Linked DNA regions of Homo sapiens: region 1 is linked to region 2. The links are contacts of gene promoters, found by promoter capture Hi-C in blood cells and fetal thymus (Javierre and others, 2016). All regions are on one chromosome and are shown on one strand. The core of a region is centred on a gene start or on the middle of the fragment in contact, and the rest is flanking DNA. Distances in the headings are between cores, read along the strand shown.

The links. The method cuts DNA at HindIII sites, captures the fragments that hold promoters and counts their contacts. A CHiCAGO score of 5 or more calls a contact.
Region 1: a contact is called between a fragment that was not itself captured here and the fragment with the promoter of ZNF699 in region 2, in 1 of 17 cell types (total CD4 T cells). The highest score is 5.4, in total CD4 T cells.

Annotation. Positions count from the first base shown.
Region 1 is chr19:9,502,968-9,508,639 of GRCh38, forward strand. LOC105372268 (a long non-coding RNA gene) reads right to left here. Exons shown (of 3, transcript XR_001753862.2): 3 at 4,841-5,672. It also overlaps a transcript of ZNF560 not described here. Among named protein-coding and RNA genes, the nearest start is that of ZNF560, 7.2 kb to the left of the region's middle. The HindIII fragment of the contact is 3,644 bases long and covers 2,282-5,672 here.
Region 2 is chr19:9,306,680-9,312,479 of GRCh38, forward strand. It overlaps ZNF699 (zinc finger protein 699), which reads right to left and starts at 3,159. Exons shown (of 6, transcript NM_198535.3): 1 at 2,671-3,159. RefSeq lists silencers at 2,829-3,078, 5,434-5,728 and an enhancer at 3,139-3,258. The HindIII fragment of the contact is 15,955 bases long and covers 1-5,800 here.

The DNA of each region.
Region 1 (5,672 bases), core at 2,854-5,353, 200 kb after region 2:
TATTATTTCCTTTCTTCTGTTAGATTAGTTTACTTTCCTCTTTTTTGGTAGTTCCTCAAGATATAAAATTATTTATAGGTATTTACAGCTATAAATTTCCTACTGAGGCCAGGTAATGTGGCTCACACCTGTACTCCCAGCACTTTGCGAGGCCAAGGTGAGAAGATTGCTTGAGCCCAGGAATTCAAAGCTGCAGTGAGCTGTGATCATGCCACAGCACTGCAGCTTGGGGGACCAGAGCCAGACCTTGTCTCAAATAATAATAATAATAATTTTCCACTGAGCACTCTCTTCATTGCATCCTATAAGTTTAGGTCTGTCCTGTCCATTTTTGTTTTTCTCTACATGTTTTCTTTTGTAATTTGTTTTTGTTGTTGTTGTTGTTTGTGACTAACAGAAATTTTTTTCTTATAGCTCTAGAGGCTGGAAAGTCCAAGAACAAGGCACAAGCAGATTCAATGTCTCAGGAGGGCCTGCTTCCTGGTTCATACGATTGTCTTCTCACTGTGTCTTCACATAGTGCAAAAGGAAAGGCAGCTATCTGGGCCTCTCATTTTAAAATTACTTTGTTTTTTGATATGTTTTGAGAAAGGATCTTGCTCTCTTGGGCAGGCTGGAGTAGAGTGGCAAAATCACAGCTTACTGCAGCCTCAACCAACTGGGCTCAAGCAATCCTCTCACCTCAATCTCCAGAGTAGCTGGGACTACAGGCACATGCCACCATACCCAGTTAATTTTTTAGAAAATTTTTTGTAGAGACAGGGGTTCACTATGTTGCCTGACTGGTCATGAACTCGCAGCCTCAAGTGATCCTCCTGCATCAGCCTCCCAACGTGCTAGAATTACAGGCATGAGTCATTGTGCCCAACCTAATTGCTTTAATTGACAAATTTTCATTGTACATATTAATGGAGTATAAAGTGATATTATAATTTATGAATATAATACAGAATAATTAAACGAAGCTAATTAACATATCCACCACCTCAAGTACTTATTATATTTTGTGGTAAAAACAGGTGCCTTGTAATTTGTTCTTGATCTCCTGTTTTTTAAGTGTGTGTTAATTCACACATATTTATGTATTTTAATGTTTTTCTGCCATTATAGATTTCTAGCTTAATTCTGTTGTGTTCTGACAGGTACTTTATATATATTCAGTGCTTTTAAATTTACTGAGACTCTGCTGGGTGCGGTGGCTCACACCTGTAATCCCAGCATTTTGGGAGGCCAAGAGTGGATGGATCATTTGAGGTCAGGAGTTGGAGACCAGCCTTGCCAACATGGTGAAACTCTGCTTCTACTAAAAATACAAAAGTTAGCCAGGTGTGGTGGCATATGCCTGTAATCCCAGCTACTTGGGAGGCTGAGGCAGGAGAGTCACTTAAACCTGGGAGATGGAGGTTGCAGTAAGCCGAAATTGCACCCCTGCCCTCCAGCCTGGGCAACAGAACAAGACTCTGTCTCAAAAAAAATAAAAATTAAAAAAAATAAATTTCCTGAGACTCATTCTGTGGCATATACATTTGACATATCCTGAAGATGTTCCATGTGAACTTAAGAATGTGTGTTCTCATGATATCAGATGGACTGTTCTACATGTCTCTGAGGCTTAGTTGGCTTACCGTATTTTTCAAGCTATGTCCTTACTGATCTTCTATGTAGATGTCCTTTTATTAAAAGTGTCATATATAACTCTCCAATTATTGCTATAGAACAATCTATTTCTCCCTTAAGTTTTGTCATATAACTTTGGGGTCTGTTTTTGGTGCATGCATGTTTATGATTGCTACATCTTCTTTTTCTAATTTTTAATTTTTTTAAGAGACAGAGTCTCGGCTGGGCACAGTGGCTCATTCCTGTAATCCCAGCACTCTGGGAGGCCAAGGAGGGTGGATCACAAGGTCAAGAGATTGAGACCATCCTGGCCAACATAGTGAAAGCCCATCTCTACTAAAAGTACAAAAATCAGCTGGGTGTGGTGGCACACACCTGTAGTCCCAGCTACTCAGGAGGCTGAAGCAGGGGAATCGCTTGAACCTGGGAGGTGGAGGTTGCTGTGAGCCAAGATTGCATCACTGCACTCCAGCCAGGCGACATAGTGAGCCTTTGTCTCAAAAAAATAAATAAATAAATAAATAAAAGACAGAGTCTCATTATGTTGCTTACACTGAACTTAAACTCCTAGGCTCAAGCAATCCTCCTGCCTCAGCATCCCAAGTTGCTAGAATTAAAGGCATATACCATCATGCATGGCTTATTACATCTCTTGATGAATTGAAGCTTTTATCAATATATTGCCATCCTTTGTATATTATAAAGTCTTTTACTTAAAGTTCGTTTGTCTGATATCATTATAGTCAATCCAATTATCTTTTGGTTGCTATTTGCATGGAATATCTTCTTCCCATCCTTTCACTAACAGCCTATCTGTTGCTTTTTATATAAAGTGAATTTCTTGTAGACAGAATACGATTTGATCATGGTCTTTATTATTTCATCCATTCTTCAACAGCATGACTTTTTCTTGGAGTGTTTGATTCATTTACATTTAAAGTAAAAATAAAGAAGGATTTTCTTCCTGCCATTTTGCTATATGTGTTCTGAATGTCTTATACTTTTAGCTCCTTATTTCCTCCACTGCTGATTTTTTTGTGTTTACTTGATTTTTAGAGTGAATCATTTAACTCTCTTCTAATTTTCATTGATTTTGTTTTGTTTTGTTTTGTTTTTCAGACAGTCTTGCTGTGTCGTCCAGGCTAGAGTGCAGTGGCACAATCTTGCCTCCCAGGTTCAAGTGATTCTCATGTCTCAGCCTCCTGTGTAGCTGGGACTACAGGCTTGTGCCACTATACCTGGCTAATTTTTGTATTTTTAGTAGAGACAGGGTTTCACCATGTTGGCCAGGCTGATCTTTAACTCCTGACCTCATGTGATCTGCCCACCTCACCCTCCCAATGTGCTGAGATTACAGGTGTTAGCCACCACACCAGGCTTTCATTCATATTTACTTTCTTTCTTTCTTTCTTTCTTTCTTTTTGAGATGGAGTCTTCTTGCTCTGTTGCCCAGGCTGGAGTGCAGTGGTGTGATCTCAGCTCACTGCAACCACCACCTCCTGGGTTCAGGTGATTCTCCTGCCTAAGCCTCCCAAGTAACTGGGATTACAGGTACGCACCACCACGCCTGGGTGATTTTTGTATTTTTAGTAGAGACAGGGTTTCACCATGTTGGCCACGCTGGTCTCGAACTCCTGACTTCAGGTGATCTGCCTGCCTCAGCCTCCCAAAGTGTTGGGATTACAGGAGTGAGCCACTGCACCCAGCCAAAACTTTAACAGCCCTCATAAGGATTACATTTACCATTCCAAAGTTATATTATTTGAATTTGTACCTACTTAACTTCAATAGCATACAAAAATTCTGCTATACGACTGCACGCTTCTGTTGTTTTTTTTTTTTTTGCAAAATATATCTTTATATATTGTATGCCTAAAACATACACTTATAATTTTTATTGATTTTTAAAAAATTCAGTAAAAAGTAAAAACTGGAATTAGATACAAAAATACCATAAATGTGGTTTTATATTTTCCAATATACTTACCTTTACTAGAGATCTTTATTTCTCCACACAGCTTGAGTTACTGTCTAGCATCCTTTTATTCCATCCTGAAGAACTCCTTTTAGCATCTCTTTTATGTTTATTTGTTTATTTATTTATTTATTTGAGACAGAGTCTCACTCTGTTGCCCAGGCTGGAGTGCAGTGGCACGATCTTGGCTCACCAAAACATCTGCCTCCCGGGTTCAAGCAATTTTCCTGCCTCAGCCTCCCAAGTAGCTGGCAGTACAGGCATGCACCACTGTACCTGGCTAGTTTTTGTATTTTTAGTAGAGACGGGGTTTCACTATGTTGGCCAGGCTGGTCTCAAACTCCTGACCTCGTGATCCACCTGCCTCAGCCTCCCAAAGTGCTGGGATTAAAGGCATGAGCTACCACGTCCAGCAGCATTTCTTGTATGGCAAGTGTAGTGGTAACTGTCCTTGGCATTAGTTTTTCTAGGAATGTCTTAAATTCTCCCTCATTTTTGAACATTTCTGGTGAGCACAGAATTCTTGGTTGATAGTGTTTCTTTTTCAGCTCTTAAATATGTCATCTCACCGACTATGTCCCCCATGATTTCTGATGACATATTTGTTATTAATAGTATTGAGAATCACTTCTTTCAGCACTCTTTGTCTTTGCCATTTGACATTTTGATGATATGTGATTCACTGTAGGCCTGAGTTTCTCTTTTTTTAATGTTTTTTTTTTTTGAGATGAAGTTTTGCTCTTGTTGCCCAGGCTGGAGTGCAATGGTGCAATCCCAGCTTACTGCAACCTCTGCCTCCCAAGTTCAAGGGATTCTTGTGCCTCAACCTCCCGAGTAGCTGAGAATACAGGCACCTGCCACCACGCCCGACTGAGTTTCTCTTACTTGGAGTTTGTTGAGCTTCTTGGATTTAAAGATTCATGTCTTTCATCAAATTTGGAAAGTTTTGCTTAATATTTCTTCACATTTTACTTCTTCCCCTTTATTTCTCTGTTATCTTTCTTCAGCTTCCATAATGTGTATGTTGGTCTGATGCATGGTGTACTACAGGTCCTTTAAGTTCTGTTTGGTCTTCATTCTTTTTCCTTTAGTCCCCTCAGAGTTGATATTTTTCAAAGGTTCTATCTTCAAATTTGTGGATTCTTTCTTCTGCATGCTCACATCTTCTATGGAAGAGAAGATGCAACCAGTGACCAAAGAACTAATGTTAGGAGTTTGGCTTTACAAAGAAAATAGCTCCATGTTATCTTATTTAGAATTGGTAGGTATTTTATTTAGAAAGTATTTTGAAAAGAAAGTAAAAAAGGATATAATCTAGAAAGAAAAGTACAGAAAACTTTACAAAGAACACTAAATAAAAACGTTTAAAAGGAATTAAAACAGTTCCTTCTCTGAGAATAAATGAAAATGTGAATAAATGGATAGACAATGAAAAGGTGGAAAATCTCATGTAATAGTGTTTTTTATCTTCTGCCACAGACCCCAGAGGACTGAGCAAAGGAGGATGAACACAGGAATAAAGACAAAGATAAAAAGATCTGTTTTAAAAGAAGGGGTCAGGGGGCTCCTTGCTTCTAGTGAACAAGGGCCCTGAGCTTCTAGAGCCCTTTGTATTTATTGAGTAAAGGAAATAGGGAGGAGCAGGTGATCATGAGCCAGTTGCATGATTTAGTGCAGGCCTGCATGTCTGCTTTCCTTGAACAGTAGGCTCCAGATATTCCAGTAGATAACCTCAAGGTGCACAGTGCCAGGGAGTGATTGCCCTCAGCCTACCTTCTGGTGGCAGGCACAGATGTGAGTTTGCCCACATCCTGCATTCATGATAAACAGTTTGCTGTTTGATCATATAGCCTCCAATGGAATGCTGAGTTGGTCATGACCCTCAGGTTTTCAGCTCCCAATATCTCCCCCTTTCTGTTTTTGCATTAATTGAATGAATGTAAGGCCAGGTTGGGCAGCTCTCATTTTCTGATTGGCAGTCCATCCAATTTTATAGACTATGAACAGAAAACAAAGACAGAACAGCATTATTCCCAGAACTATACATGAGATGTTAATGTGGCGCTTTAGATAGGTCCAA
Region 2 (5,800 bases), core at 1,909-4,408:
TTAGAATGAGTCAATTAACCACATCTTCAATATTACCCAATTAGACAGCTGCTGAGGCAGGGTATGAATGCAGGCCTATTTGTCTTCAAAACCCAAACACCCAGTGAGTACATTTTTGAACACATACCTTAAATTTTAATTGTTTTTAAGCCCCTTATTCCCTAGTTTTACCAGGATTTAGCCTAGAACCCTATTGGGCACTACAGAGAGTGGACAAATGAAGCATTCTAATCAAATATGCTGTGCGTGGTAGCTCATGCTTGTAATCCCAGCACTTTGGGAGACCAAGGTCGGGGGAATCACATGAGGTCAGGAGTTCAAGACCAGCCTGGCCAAAATGGCGAAACCCTGTCTCTACTAAAACTACAAAAATCAGCCGGGCATGGTGGCGCACAGCTGTAGTCCCAGCTACTCAGGAGGCTGAGGCAGGAGAATTGTGTGAACTCAGGAGGCAGAGGTTGCAGTAAGCCGAAATCACACCACTGCACTCCAGCCTGGGCAACAGAGCCAGACTCTGTCTCAAAATAAATAAAATAAATAAATAATCAAATATGTTATCTTTGAGCTCCTTTTCCTAAGGCCTATGTCTTGGGCAACGATGCTTCCCTTATAGCCCTTACCTCCTTCGTTTCATGTTTATTTAGGTGACATTTATCCTGACCCTACTACATGAAGTCACAAGGAATAAGGCATAGAAAAATAAAAAAGAAAAATCCTGAAGCAAATGAATGTTATAATATTTTGGGTAAGACATTAAACAAAATACATCAGGTAGAGATACATGCTATATAAAAAATGTAGCACATTATAGGGATAAGGAGACACGTAACATATTTATCTTTAGCAAGTCAGGACAGGTAATGTGGCAGGGTAGAAGCAGAAAATTAAAATAACTATTTCAGATCATGCTGGAATTTCAGAGGGTTTAGTATATCTATTATATATTTATAAGCATTATCAACTCCTAGAGGAAAAAAAATCAGTACTGGCCAGGCACGGTGGCTCACACCTGTAATCCCAGCACTTTGGGAGGCCAAGGTGGGTGGATCACAAGGTCAGGAGTTCAAGACCAGCCTGGCCAAGATGGTGAAACCCACCTCTACTAAAAATACAAAAAAATTAGCTGGGCATGGTGGCAGGTGCCTGTAATCGCCACTACTTGGGAGGCTGAGGCAGAGAATTGTTTGAACCCAGGAGGCAGAGGTTGCAGTGAGCCAAGATCACGCCACTGCACTCCAGCCTGGGAGACACAGCGAGACTCTGTCTCAAAAAAAAAAAAAAAAATCGGTATTAATAGGCTAGACTATTGATATATAAAGTTGAATAAAGACCAGCATAAAAGTTTAGAAAGAAAATAGAAAATAATCTTTTTTAAAACATAGTAAACAAAATCAGAAAAGCTAAAAAAGCATCCTTTGCAAAAAGAAAAACTAATGAAACTGACAAACTCAGCTTTTTAAAAAAATTTTTTAATTTAATTTATTGTTTAAGACAGACTCTTTATGTTCCCAGGTTGATCTCATTTCCTAGGCTCAAGCGATCCATCTGCCTTAGCTTCCCACCAGCTGGGACTACAGATATGCGCCACTGCAGCCAGCAACAGACTCAGCAATTTTAAGAGCAACAGGGCATAAACAACAACAACAAAAAAAAAATGAACAAGAATTAATCATAATTACAGATATCATAAGGAGAATATAGAAAAAATTTAAGGAATAAATATGAAGATGCACAGGTAATTAATGAATTTCTAGAAAGTAGTACAACTTTCAAGCAGTGATCTAAAACCTGATTACACCCAGTAATTAAAGAAAAAAAAATCAGCGGTTTAAAACACGGTCAGGCCGGGTGCAGTGGCTCATGCCTGTAATTCCAGCACTTTGGGAGGCGGAGAGCCCATGAGTTCGAGACCTGCCCGGGCAACAGAGCGAGACTCCTATTTTCTAAAAAGAAATAGGAATAAAGAAAGGAAAAAAACCTACAAACACCTACAGCAAACATCCTATTTAATGGTGAAATGATAGAATAATTCCCTCTGGAATCAGAAACAAGACAGGATGTAAATTACATGCTATTCTGTCGGACATTGTACTGGAGGTCCTGGCAAGTGCAGTAAAGAAATGAAAAGAAATGGAAACTGCAAGGAATAAAAAGGGAAAAGATTGAAACTGACAGATGACCAAATTTTCTGTGTGAAATTTAACCAATCTATAGACAAATGATTCAAATGCATCATTAATGACAAAATGCATCAGTTCACTTTCACTTGAATATAATGTATCAAACTGATGTCCACAGGCAGAATATAATATCCAGAGACCAAATACTATCTTTTTGTTTTTTTGAGACAGTGTCTCGCTCTGTTGCCCAGGCTGGAGTGCAGTGATGCGATCTCAGCTCACTGCAACCTCTGCCTCCCGAGTAGCTGGGAACACAGGAGAGCACCTTTTATTTTACTTTTTTTTTTTTTTTTTTTTTTGGTAGAGACGGGATCTTGCTATGTTGCCCAGGCTGGCCTCAAACTCCTGGGCTCAAGCGATCCGCCCGCCTCGGCCGCCCAAAGTGCTGGGATTACAGGCGTGAACCACCGCGCTTGGCCCAAACACTACCTAATGCATAAAGAGGGGACAGGAGGGGACCGAGCCGAGGCAAATGTCACCCCGTGCTCACCCGACACGCCGCGATCCACAGATCAGCTCACAGAGAACGAGGCTGAAGCGCTTGTCCTTGAGACACGAATGGCAGAGATGCTCTTCCTTTCTGGAAAGAGAGCAAAGGATGCTTTCGGAGGCTGATGAACTACGACATTGGTTCTCCAACTCTCGCCTGCATCAGAATCACCCCGATTTCTGTACCCAGACCAGAGTTCCCGATTCAGTGAGTTTGGGACCAGCCGCGGCCACAGGGGCAGCTGACCCGGGCTCTCTGAGGAGGCGCCGCGGCGGCGGGAGGCCCCGGGCGCGGGGTCCGGACAAGGAGTGGCGGGGAGGCAGCCCTTAGACCGCCGATTCCCAAACCCAGCCCTCGGTCTCCCGCGGACCCGACCCGGGGCAGGCAGGGCGGGGCGGGGCAGGGCAGGACAGGAAGCGGGCGGAGGCAAAAATGTTCCTCAGACGCGGGCGGAGGCGTAGGGTGACAAGGCTGTCGACTCGCGCATGCGCAGAAGCACACTTCTGATTCCTCTTTCGGCGCTGCAAATGGCGTATGGGGCGGGGCCTGGGAAGCGGGACTTGAGGTGAAGGGGGTGGAGCAGGTAGGAGCGGGATGCAAAGGAGCGCCAAGGCTGGTTCCAGCCGCAAGTGGATGAGAAATCCTAGTTTCTTCATGATTTGGAGTAAACAGAGAAGAAACAGAACCCTGAACTGGACTTGCATGACTCGGCCTGAGGGGCGGAACTGGGGCTAGACCTAGGGGCGTGGCCTTTTAAATACTCCAAGGGGCGGGGCTAAAGGTGGAACCAGATTGGGAGCGGGGCTTGGTAGAAATTCCTAGGGGGCGGAGACGAGGGCTGGGCGGGGCTTAAGTGACAAGGCCTAGGGATGGGGCTAAGGCTAGGGCTTCCCATCCAGGTTCTCAGCTACCACGGATACAGGATGCTCATCGATCGGGTTTCTACCTATCCTCCACGTTGCTACAGTCCTGTACACAGGACACATATATTTGCAGCTCTAATAGGAAACAGACTCTCCTTGACACTCACTCAGTCCTTTTGGGCCTTTTAGTTTTCCCTTTCATTGTTGTATTGATAACTTCTCCTGTAGAGGGAAGCCATTGATAATTATTTAAATAGAACCTTTTTCCTGGAAACTTGCTGAATTCTGATAGCTGTCAGTTTATTATTTGAACCATCAAATATAAATATTTTCTCTGCATATTTTCATTGTTTTAATGTGTATAACTCATTTCTTTATGTGAGGCAATGTCTCATTCTATCGCCTAGACTGGAGTGCAGTGGCGCGACCATGGCTCACTGCAGCCTTGACTTCCCCAGCTCAAGTGATGGTCCCATCTCAGCCCCCCAAGTAGCTGAGAATACAGTCGCGTACCACCCCACCCAGCTATTTTCTTTATTTTTTTGTAGAGATGGGATCGCACTATGTTGCTGAAGCTGGTCTCAAACTCCTGAGCTCAAGCTATCCTCTCACCTCAGCCTCCCAGAGTGCTAGGGGTACAGGTGTAAGCCACCACACCCAGAGTCATTTCTTTTTCTTATTGTTTGTTTAGGGCTTCCTCAACTATAAGTCGGAAAGAAATTAAGCATTCTTGTCTTGGTCGGTAATGATTACCAAAGTTCCTCAGTAAGCTGTTTACAACAGGTTGCACCTCTTATCAAGTTAATCTTTTTAAACCAGGTTTATAAAGATATTTTATCAATAATTTTTTATGAACACTATCAAATGTTTATGCAACAATTGAGTTGATAACATAATTTTGCTCCTCTTAGTTTATAATATGATATCCATATAAAATATTTAATTTTAGGCAAGGCGCAGTGGCTCATGCCTGTAATCCCAGCACTTTGGGAGGCCGAGGCCGGTGGATTACCTGAGGTCAGGTGTTCAAGACCAGCCTGGCTACCATGGTGAAACCCCATCTCTACTAAAAATACAAAAAATTAGCTGGGCATGGTGGCGGGTGCCTGTAATCCCAGCTACTCAGGAGGCTGAGGCAAGGAGAATCGCTTGAACCTGGGAGGCAGAGGTTGCAGTGAGCTGAGATCGCGCCATTGCACTCCAGCCTGGGCGACAATAGAAAGACTCCATCTCAAAAATATATATATTCAATTTTATATATCCCCAATGAATCTATACTTTTAGTAAAATGGTTTCTGAGTTTCCTAGTTTGCTTTTAAATGTCTCCCCAAACTCTAAAATATAAAAATACTTCCTAATTTACTTCCAAATTGTACTGCTTTTTAAAACGTATAATTCTTTACTGCTCAGGGAATGTATTTTGGTATAATATGAGGTAGAGATGTGTTATATAAGTGAACCACAGGTGGCCTTTCTGTATTGGTCCCTAGGTTGTTCATTACTTCTTCACTGCGGCTTGAGGTCACCTTCCCAATGCCTGTCCCTGGTGCCCTAGCCAGCTCCCTTTCATCATCTATGTTTTTTAAGTGTAAATCTTTTTCTATTATGAAGCATTATGTTCTCATTGTAGTTTTTTATTTTAAAGGAAAAGTATAAGGAAAAGACAAACAACATTCAGAATCCCAGCAGTGTTTGAATTTTCTGTATTTCCTTTCTGCCTTCTTTGTACGCGTGGGTGGCAAGCCACCCAGGTGCCAAGGCAAGAGACCGAGGGCACAAGCTGTTCCAGTATAATAAAGAAAATATATAGAATAAGAGTAGTTATACTAGAAATAGATTATAGATATGATTGTATATATCATTAATCATTTGTAGCATTACTCTTTATTCCAATATTATAATAATCTTTGTTCTACAATCATAACCTAGGAAAAACCAGGCCATACAGAGATAGGAGCTGAAGGGACATGGTGAGAAGTGACCAGAAGACAAGGGTGAGCCCTCTGTTATGCCTGGACAGAGCCACCAGAGGGCTCCCTGGTCTAGCGGTAATGCCAGCCCCTGGGAAGGAGCCCGTTACCTAGCGGACCTTGGTCTAGCAGTAGCGTCAGTGCCTGGGGAAGGCACCCATTGCTTAGCAGACAGGGAAAGGGAGTCTCCCTTTCCCCGGGGGAGTTAGAGAAGACTCTGCTCACTACCTCTTGCGGAAAGCCTGACATCAGTCAGGCCCGCCCGCAGCCATCCAGAGGCCTAAACGTCTCCCTGTG